Regions from separate parts of the Homo sapiens genome. Here region 1 is linked to region 2. The links are contacts of gene promoters, found by promoter capture Hi-C in blood cells and fetal thymus (Javierre and others, 2016). All regions are on one chromosome and are shown on one strand. The core of a region is centred on a gene start or on the middle of the fragment in contact, and the rest is flanking DNA. Distances in the headings are between cores, read along the strand shown.

Region 1 (3,877 bases), core at 1,081-3,580, 180 kb after region 2:
TGAGCTCCCTCCATTCCATCCCCATCGCCTCCCTTCCCGACCCAGCCACTGTCTCCTTAGCCAGCAGGGCCATGTCAGATCCCAAACTACCATCCTCAGGGGATGGCACAGCACATGTGTGAGAGACAGAGACACACACAGAGACAGTGACACAGAGAGACAGAGACAGAGAGGGAGGCAGGGAGAGAGAGAGACACACACACAGAGACAGAGTCACAGAGGGGGAGATGGAGACACACAGAAAAAGAGACAGAGAGACACACACACAGACAGAAACAGAGAGAGACAGAGGAGAGAAACAGACAGGGCGATGGAGAGAGAGAGAGAGAAGGAGGGAGGGAGGGAGAAGCCAGGTACTGGAGGCTGTGACTTCCTCACTTGGCCCCTGCCAGCCTCTCTCACTGCTCCCTCTCCCAGTTTAACACGGAGCCTTTTCTCTCCCCTCCCTCTGTGTCCACTTGGTGCCTGCCTGTTGAGTGGAGCAGGGCCCTCTGGAGCCCAGCACCTCTATCCCCACACAGGCCCCTCTCTCTGAGCTGGGGTTCCAGGGACAGGTTCCTTCAGAAGCAGGAGCTGCAGGTGGCAGCAGCAGAGCCAGGTGTGTAGGGTGGGCTGGCGGGATGCTGGATTCATCGAGAGATGAAAGGCAGAAGGGAATGGTAGCCAGGTGCAGGAGATGCTCACCAGCGGGTCCCTATGGGAGGGTGTGGGGGCTGCAGGCTCACCTGCAGGGACACCCAAGACCCCAGCAGGGCCTGCTCATTAGGTTAAAATAAGAAAAGATTCACTCCTCCAATTTTTTTTTCCCAAGAGCTTGATTTGAAACTCTTCCAGACAAAACTACCAAGAAAAAGCAAGTGCATGATCCCCAGTGTCCTCCACCCTCTCCCTTCCCTCCACTATGCCCTAACCCTAAATGCTCGGGTCTTCCTATCGCTTCATCTCCATTGAGAAAACTCCTACTCATCCTTGAAAACCCCACCAGGGTGTCCCCTCTTTTGAGAGTCTCAGTTGTTGCCCTTGCTCCTGGTGGCTCTCCTTTCTGAAGGTTCCTCCGGGCAGGAGACCCTCAAATCCCCAACCCCTGGGGCTCAGGCTCAGCATGGAGCAGTGAACAGAGAGGACTGGGGGTGGGGGGCACACACCCACTCCACCCCAAATGCAGCCCGGAGGCAGCCAGGCCCTCCGTTGCTCCCAATGAAGGAGGCTGTCCTGCCCCAAGAAACTCAAGGAAAGCCAAGCATTCTTGACAATTAAAGCCACCAGAATATGAATATTTGTCTTTTAAACGCAGCGACTTCTTCCTAGTGTGGGGTGAGGTGCAGAGGAAGGAGAGAAGGAAAGGGGCGGCCAGCGCCCAGGGAACACTGCGTGGCTCTGCCTGGTGGGGCCCTGCAGGGCGCCTGGACGTGGTTGCAAAGGTCCCTGGAAACCAGGCCTCTCTGCGGCGCTGCAGATGTTGGCTCACTCAGGTGGAAGCAGGTAACCGAGAGAATGGGGTGGGGACGTGGCCAAATGGAAAGCACCCAGAGGGAAAGAGACACTGGGCACAGAAACAGTTCCTCCTGTCTGTCCTTGAAAAAGTAGGAAACCAGGAGAGAGGGGGAGGAGGGAGCTGCAGTTCTCACGCAGGGACTAAGCTTCCCCTTTTTTCTCTCTCCAGCAGGTGGTGTTTGTGGCACCAAGTAAATGCTGCATGGATTTTTGCTAAGAATTAGCTGCAGATGGACTAAGGGGAAAGCTGACCCCGGGGCCAGGCGTTGAGCAGCAAAGAAGAGACAGCTGGAAACAGCTGTGCTGGCGCCACATGGTCCTGGAAGGGGTGGCTCCTCCGGCTCCCGCACGCCACCTCGCTCACGGACACCATCACTGCCCTGTGCAGAGGAGCTGGGGGGGCAGCCCCTGAGGGGCCAGCTGTGGGGTGGGCTCTATCAGCAGCCACTGACGGGGACACACGGGGCAACTGAGGTTTCTGGACGGACACAGGTGGGCATGAATGCGTCTCCGCCTGCGCCACCGGCACTGCGGGGCCCTGCCGTGGGGATGTGGTGCTCCCAGGTGGGGGTGAGTGGGGTGAGCCCTGGCTGACCACGCCTCACGGCTTTTGGTTGCTGTTCCTGCACACCTGCCCACTGCCCCCAGCACCACCCTCGGGGGGCTCCGCCATCACACCCATTTCCCAGGTGAGAATGCCCAGGTGCAGCACGCCCTTGAGACGGCTCAGGTGAGTGGGGCGGCTGAGTTTGGAAATGCCCTTCCTCAGGAAAGTGTCCCTTGAGCCTGCCCACCTGGCACAGGCTCTCCAAGGAGGGCAAAATCTGTTAAGACACAGGAGACTCGGAGGCACGCGTAAATGGTTTTTAACCTCGAAGGACAATCCCAGACACTCAGGAGGCTTCCAAGAGGGAACCAGGAGGACCTGGCTGCCTGCTTCCCCTCGATTTGGTCTCGATGACCCGCATCAATTAGGAAATCTGGTGTCACTGACAAGGCATGCATGCTGGGGCCCTCACTAAGATGCACAGAGAGAGAGTGCGCTGTCTGTGGGTGTGGCCTCCCAGGGACGCAGCCTGCCCCACTGTTTTGGTGCCCATGAGGCCCCCAGGAGCCATAGGAGGGGACCCTGTGTCGCCGGGTCCTTTCAGCTGCCTCCCTGAAAGCTCCCTTGTGGCAGAGCTGCGGCCCAGATTGGATTCACCAGGAGACGGGTGCCCTGCTGGGAAACCCGGTGGCCTGCAGAGCCGTCTCCCATTCTCGGGGCCCTGCCCTTCTGGCCCGAGTCCCTCTGGCTGCAGTGTGGGCTTCAGCTCTTTCAGGCTGGTGGTCTGGTATGTGGGGTCCTGGTCAGCCCCCACAGCATGACCAAAAGGCACAGGGTTCCTCCAGGCCGGGGCGACTGCCAGAACCCTGTGGAGCCATCTGCGATGCCGCAGCTGATGGGGGCCCAGGTGACAGTGGCCCTCAGAGTCTAGCAGGTGACCTGGTGGCCCAGCCGAAGGGCCAGGTCAGGGGAAGCTTGTCTGGGGTCTGGGGAGAAGGGCCTGCTGGTGTCCACCCCAGGAGTGGGACCATCTGAGACCCAGCACATCCCAGAGCCCTGCTCGGCCCTCCTCACCTGGGCCTGCCTGCCCGGAACCCGCTGCCCGCTGCCCGCTGCCCGCACCTGTCCACCCCAGCATGGCCCAGGGTGCAGCGCCAGCACCCGCTGCTTGAAAGCTGCTCGCTCCCAGGCTCCACCGTGCACAGCGGCTGGTCTCTGGGTGTCAGAGCGGGGACTATCTGAGGTGCTGGGAGCCCCATCAGATTCCTGCCCAAGCCCGCATCTTAGAACTTGCCCTTCTGTGCAAAGACAAATAACTTCCCAGGCAGGCTCAGGCAGTCCCAACCCCTCCTCTTCCCAGGAGGCATGTGTCTGCCCCTCCATCCCCAGTGGGGATGTGAGCCTGTGACTCAGTTTCTCCTCCAAGCTAAACAAACTCAGGGTGTGGGTGAGCGCAGGGATCCTCCCCACAGGATAGGGCCCTGGGGGAGGGGGCGAGGACAGTGGCCAGGAAGTCCCCTGAGGCTTTGGTGAGCTGAGACTTGGGGACTGTCAGGGACTATAGTATCGGAGTGGCCAAGGTCCCCCGACCTGCCTCCAGTGGAAAGTGCAGGCTGGACCAGAGGCTCATGAAGCGCCCACCCCCGCAAGGCAGTGATCAACTCCTTGACAATGCTGGAGGCGAAACTGATTCAGGAAAAGCCCATTTCTGTTTTTCTTTAAAAACCTTCACATCACAAAGCCCGCGTGAGAGACAGCAGCTCTCCATGGTGAGAAGGAACAGGGCCCCCTGAGGGCAGACTCCTCTAAACGGAGGCTGAGACCTTCACGGCCCCC
Region 2 (3,573 bases), core at 960-3,459:
CTGTCGGAGACCACCACCCTCCCAGGCCTCCCTGCTACTGTCGGAGACCACCACCCTCCCAGGCCTCCCTGCTACTCTCGGAGACCACCATCCTCCCAGGCCTCCCGGCTACTCTTGGAGACCACCTCCCTCCGAGGCCTCCCTTCTACTCTCAGAGACCGCTTCCCTCATTAGCTCTGCGGAAGCAAGCCCTCTTCCCGGGACCACGGTGGCTGCAGTACGGGTAAGTGGGTGCCGCACTGGCTTTTTCTGGAACCACACGATCAAGAGGGTTTGGCTACCGAAATGCCTAGAAAGCTTCAGGACCAGGCGCTCTCCTGAAAAGCTATTTGGTCAAGTGAGTGGTTTAGGTGGGCATGCGTGTATATGTGGGCGTGTGTGGGTGTGTGTCCATGAAAGTGGCCATGTCTGTGTGCGTGTGTGCATGTAAGAGTGCCTGAGTGGGTGAGTGTTGACCATGTGCATACGTGGGTGTGTGCAGGTATGTACGGTGTGTGCACATGTGGGTGTGGGCATGCATGTGTATGGGTGTGTGCACAGGTGTGTGGGTGTGCGTGTGGGGGTGTGCATGCAGGTATGATGTGTGTGCACAGGTGAGTGTGCAAGCGTGTGCAGGTATGCATGGGTGTGAGGTGTGCACGTGTGTGTGGGTATGTGCCTGTGTGTGGATGTGCATGGGTGTGTGCCGGCATGCATGGGTGTGGGGTGTGCACAGACAGGTGTGTGCATGGGTGTGCATGTGTATGGGCACGTGCACGTGTGTGGGTGTCCATGTAGGGGTGAGCATGTGTGTATGGATGTACGTGTGCACAGGTGGGTGTGCAAGTGTGTGTGGGTGTGCACAGTGCAGGGGTGTGTGGGTGTAGGTGTGCACATGCCTGATGGTGGACAGGAACCTCAGGTTCCTTCCTACTGCTCTTTCTGGCCCCACTAGTGGATCCGGAGTAGAAACCAGCCAGAGAGAAGCGCACAGGGGAAGCACAGCCATCACTTAGCAAAATCACTTAGTGAAATCTGGGGGAAAATGAGAGTGGGCTGAAGGCAAAATCAGTGTGCTCTTTCAGCTGGAGAACATAGCAATCAGGGGAATAGGGGCATGGAACAGCCCAGAAACTGGATACACAGAGCTGCGCAGCCGTCATATGCCCCAGGAGGAGGAGGGCGGCGGGTGTGTTCACGCACCACGTGCAGCCCTGGCTGCTCTGCTGCTGGAGTCCATTCGGGCTGCTGTGACAACACGCCTAAGCCTGAGCCACTTGTCAACAACAGACATTTATTGCTCACAGTCCTGGAGGCTGCAAGTCCAAGACCAGGGTGCTGGCGGATGTGGCGTCCCATGAGGCAGCCCTCTGCTTCCAAGACGGCGCCTCTTGACAAGGCTCAGGGTGGACAGAGCGAGGGAGCTCCCTGGAGCCTCTTCTACCCGGGCCACTCATGCCATTCGTGAGAGCACAGCCCTCGTGATCTACTCACCTCCCAAAGGTCCCACCTGTTAACACCATCACATTGGGTATTAGGTTCCAACCTATCAATTTTGGGGGCCACTAACACTCAGGCTACAGAAACTACTAATGCATCTTGGGATATTGTGAAACTGAAAGGTGACAACGTGCCAGCAGCCCTCGCTGGCTCTCGGCGCTTCCTGGGCCTCCGTGTCGGCTCTGGCCGTGCTTGAGGAGCCCTTCGGCCTGCCGCTGCGCTGTGGGGCCCCTCTCTGGGGCTGGCCGAGGCTGGAGCCAGCTCCCTCTGCTGGCGGAGAGGCGCGGGCGGGAGCGGGGGCTGAGCGCAGCGCTCGCGGGCGGCGCGGGTTCCGGGTGGGTGCAGGCTTGGCTGGCCCGCCGACGCCTGCTGGGCTTGATCTGGGGATGAGCTCCCTCTGGGCTGCCGGAGTGCCCAGGGTAGATGCTGCAAAGTTCTAAAGGGAGTGCTACTGAGAGGTGAGGCCGGCTGGGCTTCTGGCTCCGGTGGTGACTTGGAGAACTTTTCTGTCTACCTAAAGGATTGTAAACACACCAATCAGCACTCTGTAGCCAGCTAAAGGTTTGTAAATGCACCAATGAGCACCCTGTCCAAATGGACCAATCAGCTCTCTGTAAAATGGACCAATCAGCTCTCTGTAAAATGGACCAATCAGTTCTCCGTAAAATGGACCAGTCAGCAGGATGTGGGTGGGGTCAGATAAGGGAATAAAAGCAGGCTGCGGGAGCCAGCGGTGGCAACCTGTTAGGGTCTGCTTTTGTCCTCTGGGAGCTTTCCTTGTTTGGTTTTCGTAGTAAATCTTACTGCTGCTCAGTGTTTGTGTCTGTGCTGCGTTTGTGAGCTGCAACGCTCACGGTAAAGGTCTACAGCTTCACTCCCGAAGCCAGCGAGACTGTAAATCCACTGGGAGGGGCAAAGAACTCTGGACGTGCTGCATTTTTAGGAGCTGTGACACTCACCGCGGAGGTTTGCAGTTTCACTCCTGAAATCAGTGTAGACCACGAACGCACCAGAAGGAACAAACTCCAGACACACCGTTTTTAGGTAACCGTAACATGTACCGCGAGGGTCTGCGGCTTCATTCTTGAAGACGAGACTAAGAACCCACCAACTTCTGGACACAAAACCACCCCAAAAAGTGAGTTTCTAAAGGAGAAGCTAAAAATAAAGACCACGAAAGTGTTGCCCATGGTGATAGCTCCAGACGTCCGGAGACGGTGTTCAGCGCTGCTGCAGGAGAGGTATGTGGGCAGAGTGGGGAACCGCATTCCTCCATGGAGGCTGCTCTGGAGGGCTGGTGCCTGCATCGGGGTTGCATTCAGCCCCTAACAAAGCTGTAGGCAGCCGCTCCGTGTGGTGCGGGGGAAGCCGGTGCAGGCATTACTCCTACAGCGTTCTGTGGTTTCTTCTCGGGAGTGATACAACCCACTGTCTCCACTGTAAGGTTTAGTTAATGCTGGGTGACAGTCTGATCTCACGTAGCCAGGTACAGATAAAGTACAACACACTCCTTAGTCTCCTTCCTTTCCTGTCCGCCAGGTGCCCACAGGGGGCCTGCACTTCAACTCCTGAGCAGCTGGGCTCCCACCCCTAGCCTGAGCCCTGCTGTTTCCTGCTCTCTGCCCTGTATCCTTGTCAGAGCCTCAGCTCTCTCCCTGTGCTGAGTTGGCGCAGGTGAGACGGAGGGACCAACGCCTGGCCCTTAACGTCAGTGCCTAGTGCACACTTACCCAGTGTGTGCGTGGCCTACCAGCGGTACCCAGCCATGGGGCGGCAGGAATCCCTCTCTGCCTGCAGTCCTGCCACCCTGGTCTTCTGCCTCCCCAGGGAGTTTCCACTTTGCGGAGAAGTGGGGGCCAGAGAGATGGGGGGAGTTAGTGGAGGGAACAGGGAGACAGACCCTTCCCTTCATGGTCCTCAAAGGTACAGGCGCTGGTGGGCTTACCTTATTATGGAGGCTGCAGCTTTTGTGTTCCTTCCAGGACCACAGAAATATACCACACACCCCCCAAAGTAAATAAGTGATTAAAATCAACCGGGATGGGGGCTTGAAGCCGAAATGGAATATAAGCAGTAACAGGTGAACCTCATCGA

The links. Contacts are between HindIII fragments. The CHiCAGO score rates a contact against its expected background, and 5 or more counts as called.
Region 1: a contact is called between a fragment that was not itself captured here and the fragment with the promoter of LINC01511 in region 2, in 1 of 17 cell types (non-activated CD4 T cells). The highest score is 5.9, in non-activated CD4 T cells.

Annotation. Positions count from the first base shown.
Region 1 is chr5:1,202,692-1,206,568 of GRCh38, reverse strand. The region is part of intron 1 of SLC6A19 (solute carrier family 6 member 19); the gene reads right to left. Among named protein-coding and RNA genes, the nearest start is that of SLC6A19, 3.0 kb to the right of the region's middle. RefSeq lists an enhancer at 1,943-2,506. The HindIII fragment of the contact is 1,375 bases long and covers 1,643-3,017 here.
Region 2 is chr5:1,378,709-1,382,281 of GRCh38, reverse strand. LINC01511 (long intergenic non-protein coding RNA 1511) reads left to right here and starts at 2,209. Exons shown (of 2, transcript NR_125810.1): 1 at 2,209-2,720. The HindIII fragment of the contact is 19,487 bases long and covers 300-3,573 here.